Regions from separate parts of the Homo sapiens genome. Here region 2 is linked to region 1. Evidence: promoter capture Hi-C in human tissues and cell types (Jung and others, 2019). All regions are on one chromosome and are shown on one strand. The core of a region is centred on a gene start or on the middle of the fragment in contact, and the rest is flanking DNA. Distances in the headings are between cores, read along the strand shown. Region 1 holds the start of SYNDIG1 (synapse differentiation inducing 1). Region 2 overlaps LOC105372577 (a long non-coding RNA gene).

Region 1 (7,011 bases), core at 3,397-5,896:
TTGAGCAGCAAAGTCCATAGGAGCTAGGGGCAGCCAGATGGAATCAGCCACTGATATCTGGGGCATCTGATCCAGACACAACAGTGTCTGCTACACTCAGCCTCTGCCCCCTTGAAACAAGAAGGTCCCCAGCTGAGGGAGAGACACAGTCATGGTCTTAGGTTCTGAGGGTCTTCACACCAGCATCGGCTTGGTGCCAAGGATCTAGACTTTGCCATTTCTCTCAACGTCTCAGAAAAAGCACCAGCAGCTCTTGTCTTGCCAACTGTCTTTAAGAACAGTGACCAGCCAGCTCCACTCAGGAAGGCACTGCCAGCACTCTGAGCCCGCCCTTGCCTCCTACAATGCCAGGCAGCACATAGAATAAGCTCATTTCAGAAGTGAGGAAATCCAGGCTCAGTTAATCAGGATAGAGTGTGAGAGACAGCAGCAGACACTTGCCTCCAACCCAGGCTTGGCTGGCTCTGAGGTGTGAGATTCTACCCTAGCAGGGAAGCATTCAGCTGATGCCTGACAGACACCCCCTATTAATGTTGGCTACTTTGGATCCCACCCCACTTCTCACAAGTAATGTGAAGACAGGAGAGCCACTCAGTTCTCAAAATTCAGCTTCTTCATCTTCCTGCGATCATTCTGGCTGGCCCCACGGACCTTAAGATTCAATGAGGTTATATTTATAAAGAACTTATCTCATTTCTAGACATGGTCAATTGAAAAAAAAGGCCACAGATTCCTCCTGTCACTCACTGCAAGCCCATTTCCAATGTGACTTTATAGCCAAAGAGTACAGGATATCTCCCCAACTCCTGAATCTGGCCTGGGCCATTTGACCTGCTTTGGTCAATGAGATGATGTGACGTCACCCTGAAGAGCCATGCACATTGAGGTTTGCCTTCCCTTATTGCTGTCGGGCACCCTGAAGCCACCACTGGGTGAAGAACTCTGAGCCAGCCTACAGGAAAAGGACAGACATGGCCCACAGCCAGTCTACTCCCAGAAATGTAAGGTCTTTGGCTGCCAGCTGACCGCAGATGCCTGAGTGAGCCCAGACAGCAGTGTGAGGCAGAGGCAATCCATCCCAGATGGCTCAGCCCAAATCATCAACCCACAGCATTGTGAGCAAATCAGTGATTATCATTTTAAGCCACTGAGTTTCAGAGTAGTTTGTTCAGCAGCAATAGATAACTGATACAACCAGCACTATAGAAGTTGCTTAAAACATATTATCTTTCTCTCTTCCTTATTTCTTTTCAAAGAGCTGTAATGAATGCACGGGCAAGACTGCTGATGTTGGAACTGAGCAGACCCGGACATGCCCTTGACCCCTCTACTCAGCCTCGCTGTAACCATTTCCTCACCTGTGGAATCAGAGGGCTGGACTAGATGACTGCCAAGGTCCCAACCGACTCTAGCCTTCTGACCTTCTCTTGCATCTTTTCTCTTGTTTAAACTTTCATGTCAACATTGTCTCAGACATTTTTCTAGGTTTTGTATCACTTTCCATTCACTTTTGATAGAAATTCATGCTTTCTTTCCAGCCCCTCCTATCATGTCTAGATTGAGCATCTGAATGGATGTCTTTCTACACTTCTAAGTCAACAAGATTCAACTTTAGCAAGACACTGCCGCTTTTCAGTTCCTATATGTCATCCACTTAAGTCCCTTTAATAACAGATTTTGGGGGGGAAAGAAAAACCAGGTTAATTGCATAGCTTTAAAATTGCGTATGTGATTTGTTACCTTTGGTATTGCAAGCAATGTTTGAGGCCGAGCATTTTACATGGGTAACCTGGAGATGCTTTCTAGAAGGGCACTGTTGACCCCCAGACAGTGCATAGCAGGGCTGTTTGTAACCCCACAGTCAAAAGCTTTTGAGTTCAAGACATAAAGAGGAATATTTCCCATTTGAAAAAGTACTGAATCTGTGTTTCCCCTCATCAAATCACCTACCTCTAGGCATGTAAAGTTGGCTGGAGCCGGGCTTGGTAGCTCACACCTGTAATCCCAGCACTTTGGGAGGCTGAGGCAAGAGGATCACTTGAGCAGTTTGAAACCAGCCTGGGTAACATGACAAAATCCATGTCTCCACAAATACAAAAATTTGCCAGGCTTGGTGGTGTGTCTGTAGTCCCAACTACTCAGGAGGCTGAGGTGAAAGGATCACTTGAGTCCAGGAAGTTGAGGCTGCAGTGAACCATGATTGTGCCAGTGCACTGCAGCCTGGGCCACAGGACAACACTCTGTCTCAAAAAACACATTTACCTATGTAACAAAACTGCACATCCTGCACACGTACCCCTGAACTTAAAACAAAAGTTGAAAGTTAAAAAAAAATGTTGGCTGGAAGGTGTGGCAGCTTGCTCGGTGCCTGAGTGACAGTTCTTCCCAGCACAGGAGGTGGCCCACAGACCTCTCTTAGCTCTGAAAGTTCTGTAACATCCTCTGAGAGATAAGCATTGTTGAGAAGGTTACCCCAGTTTCCAAGAGACTTGGCAATTTCTACTGTGCCCCATTGCCTAATATGTGACAGCTCCTCACTGACTTTCTTGAAAGTCTTTATTTCAATGCTATATCACAGCATACCAGATAATATTTCAAGCCACAACAAGGGAATCACAGGTAAGAGAAACTGCCCATCGTGTGCTGGGCAACTGAGCTTCCCACCAGGAGCCCTTAATGAGCTGCTGCATCTGCCAGGAGTGGGTGACATCTGTTTCTTTACATACACGTCCTGGCCCTGTGAGTTTCTTTTGAAATGAAGTGTAAGGCCCCTTTGAATTACAGAAAGATGTGTGTGTGTGTGTGTGTGTGTGTGTGTGTGTGTCATGGGGGAAGAGTCCACCTTCTGTTTCTTTCTTTTTTTTTTTTTTTTTTGAGACGGAGTCTCACTCTGTCGCCCAGGCTGGAATGCAGTGGCGCGATTAAATTCAAACAGCACCCAGGAGACAAAGGCGAGTCCTGGCTGCAGCCCAGGCAGGTGTTCTCTCGTCAAAACAAAATCTGCCTCAAAAGTCAATCCAGAGGCTGGGCAAGTGAAAGAGCAGTGACTTAGAGGCAGGGAACCCGAGCTTCAGGCTACTCCTGCACATTGGGTGGCTACACAATCTCAATTACCCTTTTTAAACTTCAATTTCTTCATTTGATAAATGGGATCAATGACTCTCCACCTCAAATGGGTCTAATAGTATCTGCTCAACCTAATGGCTTAGATGGGAAACTGCTTTATTCAGGAAAGGACTCCGGAAAGGTAAGCTGCTTTATTAAAGTGTGGTGGCATGTTCTTCCAAGTTGAGAAGTTCTGCTAGATGGGAGAAATGAACAGTGCCCGTTTCTGAGTGTTCCAGACCACAGCCTTGCAGCTCTGGGGACCTAAAGGAAGAAACATCAGGTGTGTCTCGCGGGGCTGCAGACATGAAGACGGGGATGGAATTCAGGTGATAGTACTGGTTCCACTCATCCGCGCCTCCTTCAAATGCCTCCTTCTGGCACTCTGCATTTCAGCATTCTCTTTGGGCTGCGGAGGCTCCCTAGAAGCCACGTCCCCTGAAAGGAATATAGGAAGGACCTCTTGTTCCTGGCACCACCTTTAACTCCTGCCCCTGCCCACCAGGACACCTGGGCAAGACGCAGCGCAATGGTGGGTTACCAGGCAGGAGGGAGGGCTCTAGGAAGGTTGGGAGCCATGGAACTCTGGAGCTTAACCTTCTCTGACCACCAGTGTACCAGCCTGCGGGTGGCAGGACTGGGGCCTCTGCCTAGTGTTGAAACGGGGGCGCACAGATGCTTTTCTAAATAACTTTTGACCCCCTTTCTGGTAAATCTTTTTTTCAGAGTTGATTCTCTATGAAATCTACACTGCAAACACCACCTCCTCCGCTCCTAGAACGCAGACTGTCTTACCACCGCCCTAGTTTCCTTCCAATTCCAACTGGGGCGGGCCCGCCATGGGCCAACAACAGGCTGGCTCAGGGCTGAGGGGGTCTCTGGAGTCTGAACTCCGCGCCCGCTTGCTCCTCCAGGGCTTAGCTGGTCAGGACTTGAACATTCGCCGGATCCATAAATTGGGTCATTTTTAACCTCAAAACCGAACCGCAGCCTGGGGAGGCCTTTAGGACCGAGGGGAGCCATCCCTTCCTCTAGTCGGGCAGCAAATTCCTGTCCTCCTAGTCCCCCGCAGCTATCCCCCGCCCCCAGCCTCTGTGGCCCTCACATTGTCAGACACTGGCCGCGGGCCACCATCTGGACGCGATCCCCCGCTAGGGCCTCCCTGGTCTGGGCCAAAGTTGGTGGCCACCTTCGCGCGGGCTGCGCCCTCCTTCTCTTCCCTGCCCTCCTCCCCCGGGGCCCGCGCCCGCTGCCTCCAGCACGCGCGTCGGCAGGCTCGGCAAGCGAAGAGGAGCGGCTCGCCCCAGGGCGCCCCTCGCCCAGCCTGCCGGCCAGGCGAGCGCGACGAGAGTCTCCCCGCACCCCTTCCTCTCCCGGGGGCCGAGAGGGTTGGGCTCCGCCCCGGCGCCGCAGCTCCCGACTCCCCGCCGCTCGGGCTGCCGCCGCTGCCCCGCGCCCGGCGCTCGGGGCAGCCGGGGGCGCAGGCGGAGAGCGCAGGGCGGGGAGAGGCGTGGGGAGCAGAGCGGCGCTGAGGGGAGGGCAGAGGAGGAGAGAGCCTGGCAGCGGAGGAGCAGAGGCGGGCGCCGCACCGCCCCGCACGCTCGCTCGCTCGGGAGAGTCGCGGGCGGCCGCTTGGGCGCACTTGCCGGGTCACCTTGTCCCGGAGGTAAGTCCAGACCTCCCGGCCGCGGGGGCGGGCGGAGGGGCCCGCAGTGGGCGGGGTCGCGGCAGGGGCCGCGAGCTGGCGGCGGGAGCTGGAGGCTGCCCTGCGCTGGCGGGTGTCCTAGTCCTGGCTCCGCCTCGGAGCGCGCAGACCCGGCGGCGGCGTGGCGCCCGCGGTAAGTCCGGGTGGTCGCCGCGACGAGACTTGGGAGACACGGGGTCGCAGGGCGGGAGGGGGAGCTGAGCCGGCAGAGAAAATGCCCAGGAAGGGGTCGATGCTGGCCTGGGCTGCACCTTGGTGCCTTGCCACCCCGGGAGACGCGAAGGGGCTGCTGTGCGAATTCGATGGGAGCTGGTGAGACCGAGAACTGAGAGCGTAGCGGAGCCAGGCTGCCCAGCAGGGCCATGAGGGCGCGCGGCGGGCCAAGGCTCTGCGGGTTCGGGCTGCCCCTCGGAGTGACCCGAAGGAGACCAGCCAGGGCTGGTGAGCCGGGCGGCCACGGAGCTGGGGACCTAGGTCTGTTTGGGAGTAGGAAGGGAAACAGACTAATTCTCCGAGCGGAGCGGCAGGCAAGGTGCAAGCGCGCTTGGGATGGGGAATCCCGACGGGCGACCGTGGCGGAAGCAGAGACTCCTGGAGCCTCTTTCCTCTAGCCAGGACAAGACCTGCCTTCAAAAGCTGTCTGGCCCCTGGCAGCCGCGACAGCCTGCAGCCCTGGGAGCCACAGCCCTGGCGCCGAGATGGGAGCGAGCACATACGCTTTTTTGGTTCCAATTTGAATCTCGCTTTTTCCTAGTCGTGATTTCTGCCTCTTCATGTGCACTCTCTGGGCAGTGAGGAGGAAGGAATGGCTCACTGGATGAGTTGGGCACTTTTCTTAGGGAAGGGGCTTTGTCCCTATGCGCTTTTTGCAAGACCCTACTAGAGTGGCTCTGGCAGCCGAGCTTTGAGGAGGCGGCCAGAGGGGCCGCTTGGCGTTTCTGAAAGACGAGAGGAAGGGGTCTTCTGGTAGTCCTGTTTTCCTTTGGGGGTTTCGTTGCACGCAGAGGCTTGGGCGCTTGGCACCCAGACTTCAGGTGCGCACAGTCCTCCTGCGACGTCAGATGCGCTGGCGCCGCGGCGCTCCTGGCTCGGACCGATGCCTGCGCCTTCCCTGGCCACGTCCTGGTGTTTAGTGCAGCAGACACCGGCCGAAGGCTTGGCTGATTGGGGGTGTCGAGGGGAGGGGGGCTGGGCGTTACACAGTGGCTCCGTTTTCTGGTTGGAATCAGTTGGTGAGGCGTGCGCGCGCGAGTCCGTGTATCTGTCCGTCTCCCTCCTACAGCCCAGCGTGTTTGGTCTGAGTCCAAAGAAGGAGGTGGTGTGTGTGCTGCGTAGACCTGCGCCTGTGGGGTGAGCAGCCTCATAGCCCCCAGAGCCGGCCAACTTCTCCGTGCTAGGCTGCGACCTCAAGGGCTGCCGCGTCGGGGATCGGAAGTGGTCTTCAAAGAGGGGTCTAGGTCGCGAAATCCTGGCAGCAGCCGAAGTGAAAAGGAGCTGCTAGGAGGCGGGCGGGGGGCAGTCTGATGTCCGTTCTGGCGCGGACAGGAAGAAACTGAAGTCGAATTTTTAGTTGAATTGCGTGCTCTGTGTTTGGCGGTGGTGTGGCCCGTTCTTTTGGAGGTCCACACCACAGGTATGAGGCCTGTGGGCCCTGAGGAAGCGCGATCCCCTTAATTCCTCCCTCCCCTCTCTCTCCACCGCCCGCCCCTTTGCAAGGAGCAAGCCTGACAGTAGCTGATCGGCGCCCTCTCTCACCCTGTCCCCATTTCCTGCCTGAAAACGGAATCCTCATAATCAAGAGGGCCTTGTTAAAAAAAAAAAAAAAAAGGAAAGAAAAGATGGAGAAACCTATTTTTAAACTTTTTTATTATGGAAAATTTCAGTTGTACACAGTGACAGACAGAGAATAGCACTGAAGCTTTGTGTACCCCCCACCCAGTCACCACCTGCAGTTACCTTTGGTAGAGTTTTGGAGGCCACAGAGTTTTGGAAGCCTTGTTTGATGAAGTATTTCAAAACTCATTCCAAAATGCTAAGTATTGGATAGTAGGTTAATTAGCTCCATTCAGTCATGACACATTGTATACGCATATCACAGCATCATTTTGTACCCCATAAACATACACAATTATAATTTGTTAATATCTGATAAAATAAACCAATTCAGTAAAAATACAAAATCACTTTGATGTAAACTTCAA
Region 2 (7,393 bases), core at 3,919-6,418, 130 kb before region 1:
GTGGTCTCCTGTGGAAGGGAAAGGCAATTAAGATCCCTGCAAACAAGTGTGCGGTAGGGCTGGAGAGTTGATAGGCCCTGAGGCAGCACAGTGAAGGTGTGTTGCTGACCTTGACAACTGAAAGCAAACTGCTCCTCCTGGGCTTGACAAACAGGTAAGAAGAAAGAGGAATTGGCCAGATCAATAACTGCATGCCAGGACCCAGGGGATGTGTTACTTTGCTTAAACAATTCAGCTACATCTGATGCAGCAGCTCAACTGGAGTCATTGCCTGGTTAATCTTATGATAAGCCACGGTCAGTCTCCAAGATGTGTCTGTCTTCAGCACAGGCCACATCGGCCAGTGAATACATGTGGCAGGAATCACTACCCCTGCATCCTTGAAGTCCTTGATGGTGGCACTAATTTCTGCCATCCGTCTAAGAATACAGCATTCCTTTTGGTTTATTATTTTCCCAGATAGAGGCAGTTCTAGTGTCTTTTACTTGGCTTTTCCTACTCCTCACTCCACAGGTTAGGGAACCAGTGTGGGAGAGGATTCTGAAAGCTACTGAGTATGCCTGTTCAAATTATGCATTCCAGAACCTGGAAAATAAACACAGGATGGGCTGTGGGACCCACTGGGTCCACTGTGAGATGGACCTAAGCTAAAACTCCATTATCATCTGAATCCCTCCCCACTCCTAGCCCCATCAAAAAAAAACCCACATCTGATTCGTGGGCCACAGTGAAATTTTGGGTCTCCTGGAATTAATGTTTGCTCAGAGTCAGTGTCTAGCAGTCTCTGAAAGGTTTACTTCCTTTTCCTCAATGCAGTTATACTGATATATACATACATGCCTCCATTTTGGGAAGACTAGGAGCAAGATTAACAGCACAGACTTTTGGGAGTGCCAGGATCCTTCCTCAAGGTGACCTGTCCTCCCCTTCATTCAAGGAGTTCTGGGTCTATAAACTGGCTTAGGTCTGGGAATTGATTGAGGGACCGTGATTCTCAGTTTTTATGTTTCAGGTTAGATTTTTATTCAGTTGACCTAAAACTTTTCTGTTTATAAAATCATGTAGGAATTTAGTAGGCTTACTGTCTATTTCACTTCTAGGAACACCATGATCACCTAGCTGATGCCACAGGTGCTTTGGAGTCAGTCTACTTGATTGCTGCTTTGGCCCTGCCCTCCATTAGAGTAACCATGCCTATCTCGTCTTTGGTGGCTGAGTGCTGCCTCTTGGCCCCTGGCACCCCAGGATCTAATTACTCCCATTGCATTTAGGTTTCTTAATTGAGTGGCTGTCATTGCCAATGTAAGGTTCAGCCATCAGAGAAGAGTGACCATAGAGCTCTTCAAGGATGCTGGGGCTCCCCTCACAGACTTGTTTCTCACAGTAGTGATGAAAAGTATGGTTTCTGGGCCCTCCTACTGTGGGTGAGTAGTTCCTAAATGACAAATGCAGTATAACACTTCCTTTGCTGAAGAGTACACATTTGCAGATTAGCGCATTACCGGCTCAAACATAATCTCTCACCAGTTGAGAAACTGGGCCTTGGTAAATACTCTAATTCCTATGTTCAAAAATTCATGTGGTTTGCTGCCAAGGCATCATATTAAATTAGAATGACATCCATCAAATTTTATGAAACTCAAATTTAGAAGAGTACACACTTAAGACTAATGCTTAGGATAAATTTTTTTAAATGAAAATCTCATCTCAGATCCCAGTTGGGACTTAGATGATGCTTTTTAGACTCTCAGCTTATCTTTCAAAAAATCAAGCAATGTTTTGCATAGCAGACATCATTTGCCCCTCACAAGGCAGCCCCTTGGCCCTATCAATGTCAGTGCAACTGTGCAAGGTAGCTCCATGCACGTCGCCAGCTCCCACCACAAGGGCACACAGCGGGGTAGCTGCGTCTACCTCAAGGCTCTCTCCAAAGGTGCAGCCTGGGAATGTGGGAGGGGAATGGTGATGGGATAGTGCTGGTGTGTGTCCCAGGCACAATTACTGCCAATGAGAACCAGCAGCCAGTGCATAAATGTCCCATTTTTAAAGGGATAGCTTTTAGGTGAATTCTACAGGGCTTCTCAGAGGATCATTAGTTAGACAAAGATGCCATTGCCCACAGCAATAACCAGCTCAATTATGTTCCTTCTATTGATTTCCTGTCTGTTCCTGTCTCCTTCCCCTCATTTATCCTTCTTGGGATCACCTCTCAAATAAAATACCTGCACCCAGAACGACGTGTTGGGCTCTGCTTTTGGCAGAGCCCAGGTAAAGGCACTGGCTTGCCTACAACCTATGAAAATGTGGAAACCCATGTGTTTGGTTTTCCATGTTGGGAAGTGGTGAATATGTGTTACTGTTGTGTTGGATAAGGCCAGAAGGTAGGTATTCTTAGGATAACAGCACTCATTTGATGGGGAATTGATTTCAATAGGTATCTTTCCATTCTCAATCCTCATAAATTTACTGGTCACTTACTACATAGAAAATTTCATGACATGCACTGTGAAAGCTAGAGAGGAGAATAAATTGAATTAATCTCTTGTAGTTATCATAATTTAGGAGGTATAAGCATATGGAAATGTGACCAGCATGGTGGCATGGTATTTAAGACCCAAGTGTCAAGCACAAAAAGGCAGCTCATTCAGAGTTCAGAGATTGAAAGTATTAGTAGAAACTAGAGTAGTGACGAAACACATCACAAGATACATAAACCTTGAAATTGGCTCTGAAAAATAACTATGTTCCTGACCAGTACTAAGAGACACTAATATCATAATTCTGAAAAATAGTTCCCCACCTTTACCCAACATAAATGGCTTGGCAATTCTATCTAGCAGTCATTGCCCCAGGGTGTATAATGGGATAGATCACTCACCACTAACATGTAGGAACCAGGAGTAACCCTACAAATGGTGAAGTATGAGGCAGAGAATGAGGATGTGGCAGACCTACAGCTGGAAGAGCAGTCATTCTTTGATGTGTTATATTAGAGCACACTTTTCTTTATCACTACCTTTTGAAGACCTGTGGTCTTCATATACTAAAAAGAAAGAACATGTCCTTGGGCTATGCTTGTGGTAACAGGACAGATAGGTATGTGAACACATTCTGTGAAGATTTACAAGACAGGCATGCTTGAAGCACTAAGGGGAAACAGTGGGATTCACTTACGAAGAGCAGCAATGAATGCACAGGTGTCTATTTACCCCAGACTTAAAAATGAAGCAGTCTCATTCTTAGGACAGCATGAGTTCATTTAGTTTGGAAATGAAAAGAAGACAAGACATTCAGGGAAAGGATTACATTCACAGCAGGTTTTAAAAGATGACTAGTAGTTCAATGGACAGTCAAGATGATGCTGGGCGATCTGGGAAGGTATACTGCCTGGGCTGTTGGGTTATTTTTACAAATAACATGTCCCTACTCTCAGGGACCCTTGGACTCTGATTTATCATCCTACCCTTCTGTTTCAGTTCTTTCTATTCAAAGGGACTGAAAATCCCAGAATTCAAATTATGACCCCCCAAAAAAGTGTTATTACAAATGTATGAAATAATCTCACTGAAAGGTATAGAGGTGCAAGGTATTGACCTAAGTAATTTTAGAGAAGAATAGAATGTAGAAGGCAAAGGAACTGCCCATCAGCACTGTGTTCTAGTTAATAAAATTGTCTCCAATGGGGCACATGGGTAAATGGTTCTGAAACCAGTGTACAGGTAAACTTCAATGGAACAAATGAGTAAACTGATGGCAGAAGGTGGAGCTAGGTTTCTCACTGCTGGAGTGGAATGTTGTAGAAAATCAACGGCTAGAACTCATGTGATGCTGGATTAGAGTTGGAGACATCAGCATAAATTTATATTTAGCTTAATATAAAGATAGAAAAATAGATGTTAGTAAACACACATATATTTCCTTGCTCTATCTGCTGAGAGGGTCTAGAAACAATGATACCCCAGCAGCAATAAATATATCTAACACCCAGGTTTTGGGTTTTGTGGTAGGCAGATTAATTTTTTTCCTCATCTTAATCTCAACTCTCCTCATCTTAATCTCAGAAACCTGTGAATATGATAGGTTACTGGCTAAGGGAAATTAAAGTTGCTGAAGAAATTAAATTTGCTAATTAGATGACCTTAAAATGAAGAAATTATTCTAGATTATCTGGCTGGGCCCAAATTAATGACAAGGGTCCTTGTAAGTAGCAGAGAGAGGCAGAAGATGAGTCCATTTCAGAGTGACGGTATGTGAGGAAGTCTCTATCAGCCACTGGGAGCTTTGAAGGTAAAAGGGGACCACAAGTCACAGAGTACAGGCAGCCTCTAGAAAATGAAGCAGACAAGAAAAATAGATTCTCTGTTATGACATGTACCCTTGACATGATGTAATCAGAATGACACTTCAGCCCTGTTGTTTTTCTTTCCAAAACTCATAACTCCATGACTTCTCTAATGATGAGAAAAACATATAAACCCCAATAGAAAGCATGCTAAAAAAAATAGTAGTTTCAACAGAAAGCAAGAAAACTGACATTGTCATCAAAAACAAGCAAATTATAAGAAACTGTTACAGCCAGGATTTGCCTAAATGTACATGATTACAAAATGCAATATAATATCCTGGATGGGATTCTGGAGCACACACACACACAAACACACACAAACACACACATACACACACATACACCACACACACACACAAATACACACATACACACACATACACATACACCACACACACATACACCACACACACGCACACACCACACACACAAAAATACACACATACACACACATACACATACAAACACACCACACATATACACAGACACACAAACACATACACACACACCACACGTACACAAACATACACACAAAGACACACACATACACAAACACAAACACACCTCACATACACACACACCACACACACACATATATGCACACACACATACACACATAGGTAAAAACTAAGGTAATCTCAATAAAGTAAGGACTTTAACTATAATTAAATTAAGTTAATTATAATTATAATTACAATAAGGACGTTAATAATAACTTATCAATACTATTTCATTAATTGCAATAAATATATTATACTAATGTAAGTTGTTAATAATTGAGGAAACGGGGTGAGGGGTAAATGGGAACTCTGTACTATCTTTGAAACTTTCGCAAATCTGAAACTAGTCTAAAATAAAAAAATGTATTCTACTCTTTACTTGTAAGAGATCAACTTTTTTAGATTTCACATATGAGTGAGATGAGGCAGTATTTGTCTTTCTGTGCTGGGCTTATTTCACTTAACGTAATGTCTTCTAGGCTCATCCGTATCATCACGCATGATTGGATTTCACCCTTTTGAATGTCTGAATAGTATTCCATTGTGTATCTATACCACTTCTAAAATCCATCCATCTGTTGATGGACACTTACATTGAGTCTATATCTTGGCTATTATGAATAGCACTGCAATAAACATGGGGTACGATATCTCTTACACACTACTTTTATTTTTATATACATTCCAAGTAGTAGGATTGTTGGGTCATATGGTAGTTCCATTTTTAATCTTTTCAGGAACCTCCACACTGTTGTCCAGATGGCTGTACTAATTTACATTCCCACTAACAGTATATGAGCTCCCATTTCTCCACATTCTCACCAGCATTTGTTAATTTGTGTCTTTTTAATAATAGCATTCTAACTCTGGCGAGGTGAAAACTCATTGTGTTTTTTAAATGTATGCATAATAGATGTACATATTTTTGGTGTACATTTGATATTTTGGTACAATCCTATAAAGTGTAAAGATCAAATCAGGGTAACTGGGATATCCATCGCCTTACACATTTATCTTTTCTTTATGCCAGAAACATTCAAATTCTTCTCTTCTAGCTATTTTGAATTGTACAATGGATCATTGTTAACTATAGTCGCCTACTGATCTCTTGAACACTAGGTCTTATTTCTTCTACCTAACCTAATCTTTGTACCCATTAATGATCTTGAGCATTTTGTCATACACCTGTTGGCCATTTGTATGTCTTCTTTCGAGAAATGTCCATTGAGGTGTTTAAAATCAGATTATTTTAAAATCCGTTTAATATCAGAATTTTTTTTGCTGTTGTTTGAGTTCCTTATATATTCCAGATATTAACTCCAGATATTGTCAGGTGTGTAATGTCAGTTTGCAAATATTTTCTCCCCTTTGTTGTTTGCTTCCCTAGAGGCTGGGGAGAGTGATGGGGAGGGGGGGGACGCAGTGAGGCTGCTCCATGGTTACCAAGTTACAGTTAGATGAGGAGAATTCGATCTTGTATTCCATTGCACACTAGGGTGACTAGAGTTAAAAATAATGTATTGTATATTTCAAAACAGCTAGAAGAGAGAATTTTGAATGCTCTCACTACAAAAAGTGATGAGTGTTTGAGATGATAGATACACTCATTACCCTGATTTGATCATTACACAATGTATACATGTGTCAAAACATAACGCTTCACCCCATAAATATGTACAATTATTACGTGTCAATTAAAAACAAAATAAAACTTTAAGAAGTGTACTAATTCAAACGGGAGCTGAGATAGCAGGGCTACACAGAGCAGGGGCTAATGGAACTTTACAGAGATAAGGTGCCAAATCTTGCAAGGAGGAAAAAACCCAAATGTGAGAAGATTTTTGTAAGGTTAACTTAAAAGATCAGTAAATTATCATTTAAGTGAAAGCTCTGAGTAGCAGTCATGTAGCTGGTTTCTTTTTTCCCTCTAAAGCAGTTTAGAAAATGTGCTTCCAAGGGCACTCATGGGAGGGTTCTGAGTTCATTCTGTGGCCTGTTGTAAATAGTTTTAGTGCCAAGCCCCTGGTTTCAAAGGGGTGATGAGATTGTTTCTGACCAGCATTTATTCTCTTAGTTGAAAGGAAGTGGTCCCTTCTGTTCAGTTTGTGTCTTGCAGGGAAAAGGAAGGTACGTGAGAAGGATGAAATGTTTTCAGCACGCCTCCCGGGCAGCCCTGTGACCCGGCAGGTTCCAGGAGACTTGAGTCAGCTTCAGCAGGAACTGAGGCTAAAGGATGTGGTTGAATAGGATGGCCACAGGCTAGGGCTGCAGGAAGCCTCATTTCCCTGAGCTGGATAGTCTTGAGACAGTTGGATGTCACAAAACACAGAAGAGGACTAATAGGAAAAAATAGCACCTGAAGAGAAAGTTTTAATGCACAGGGGGATGCATTTAAAAAATAAAGCTACTGTTTCTGCTGGTGAACACTGAAAGAAAGTGCAAAAATAGAGTCTTACTATTTCTACACCGGTGAAGCAAAACCCCACTCCTCTCCCAGCAATGAAGAACTCTGTCCCACAATGACACTGACTCTTTTCTTCCATTCCAA

Evidence for each region. The method cuts DNA at HindIII sites, captures the fragments that hold promoters and counts their contacts. A contact is called where the count stands out against the background at its distance.
Region 2: a contact is called between a fragment that was not itself captured here and the fragment with the promoter of SYNDIG1 in region 1, in 2 of the 25 tissues and cell types used here (dorsolateral prefrontal cortex and mesendoderm cells).

The regions. Positions count from the first base shown.
Region 1 is chr20:24,464,983-24,471,993 of GRCh38, forward strand. It overlaps SYNDIG1 (synapse differentiation inducing 1), which reads left to right and starts at 4,647. Exons shown (of 4, transcript NM_024893.3): 1 at 4,647-4,771. The HindIII fragment of the contact is 8,441 bases long and covers 1-7,011 here.
Region 2 is chr20:24,330,247-24,337,639 of GRCh38, forward strand. The region is part of intron 1 of LOC105372577 (a long non-coding RNA gene); the gene reads right to left. Among named protein-coding and RNA genes, the nearest start is that of LINC01721, 130 kb to the left of the region's middle. The HindIII fragment of the contact is 8,287 bases long and covers 1,026-7,393 here.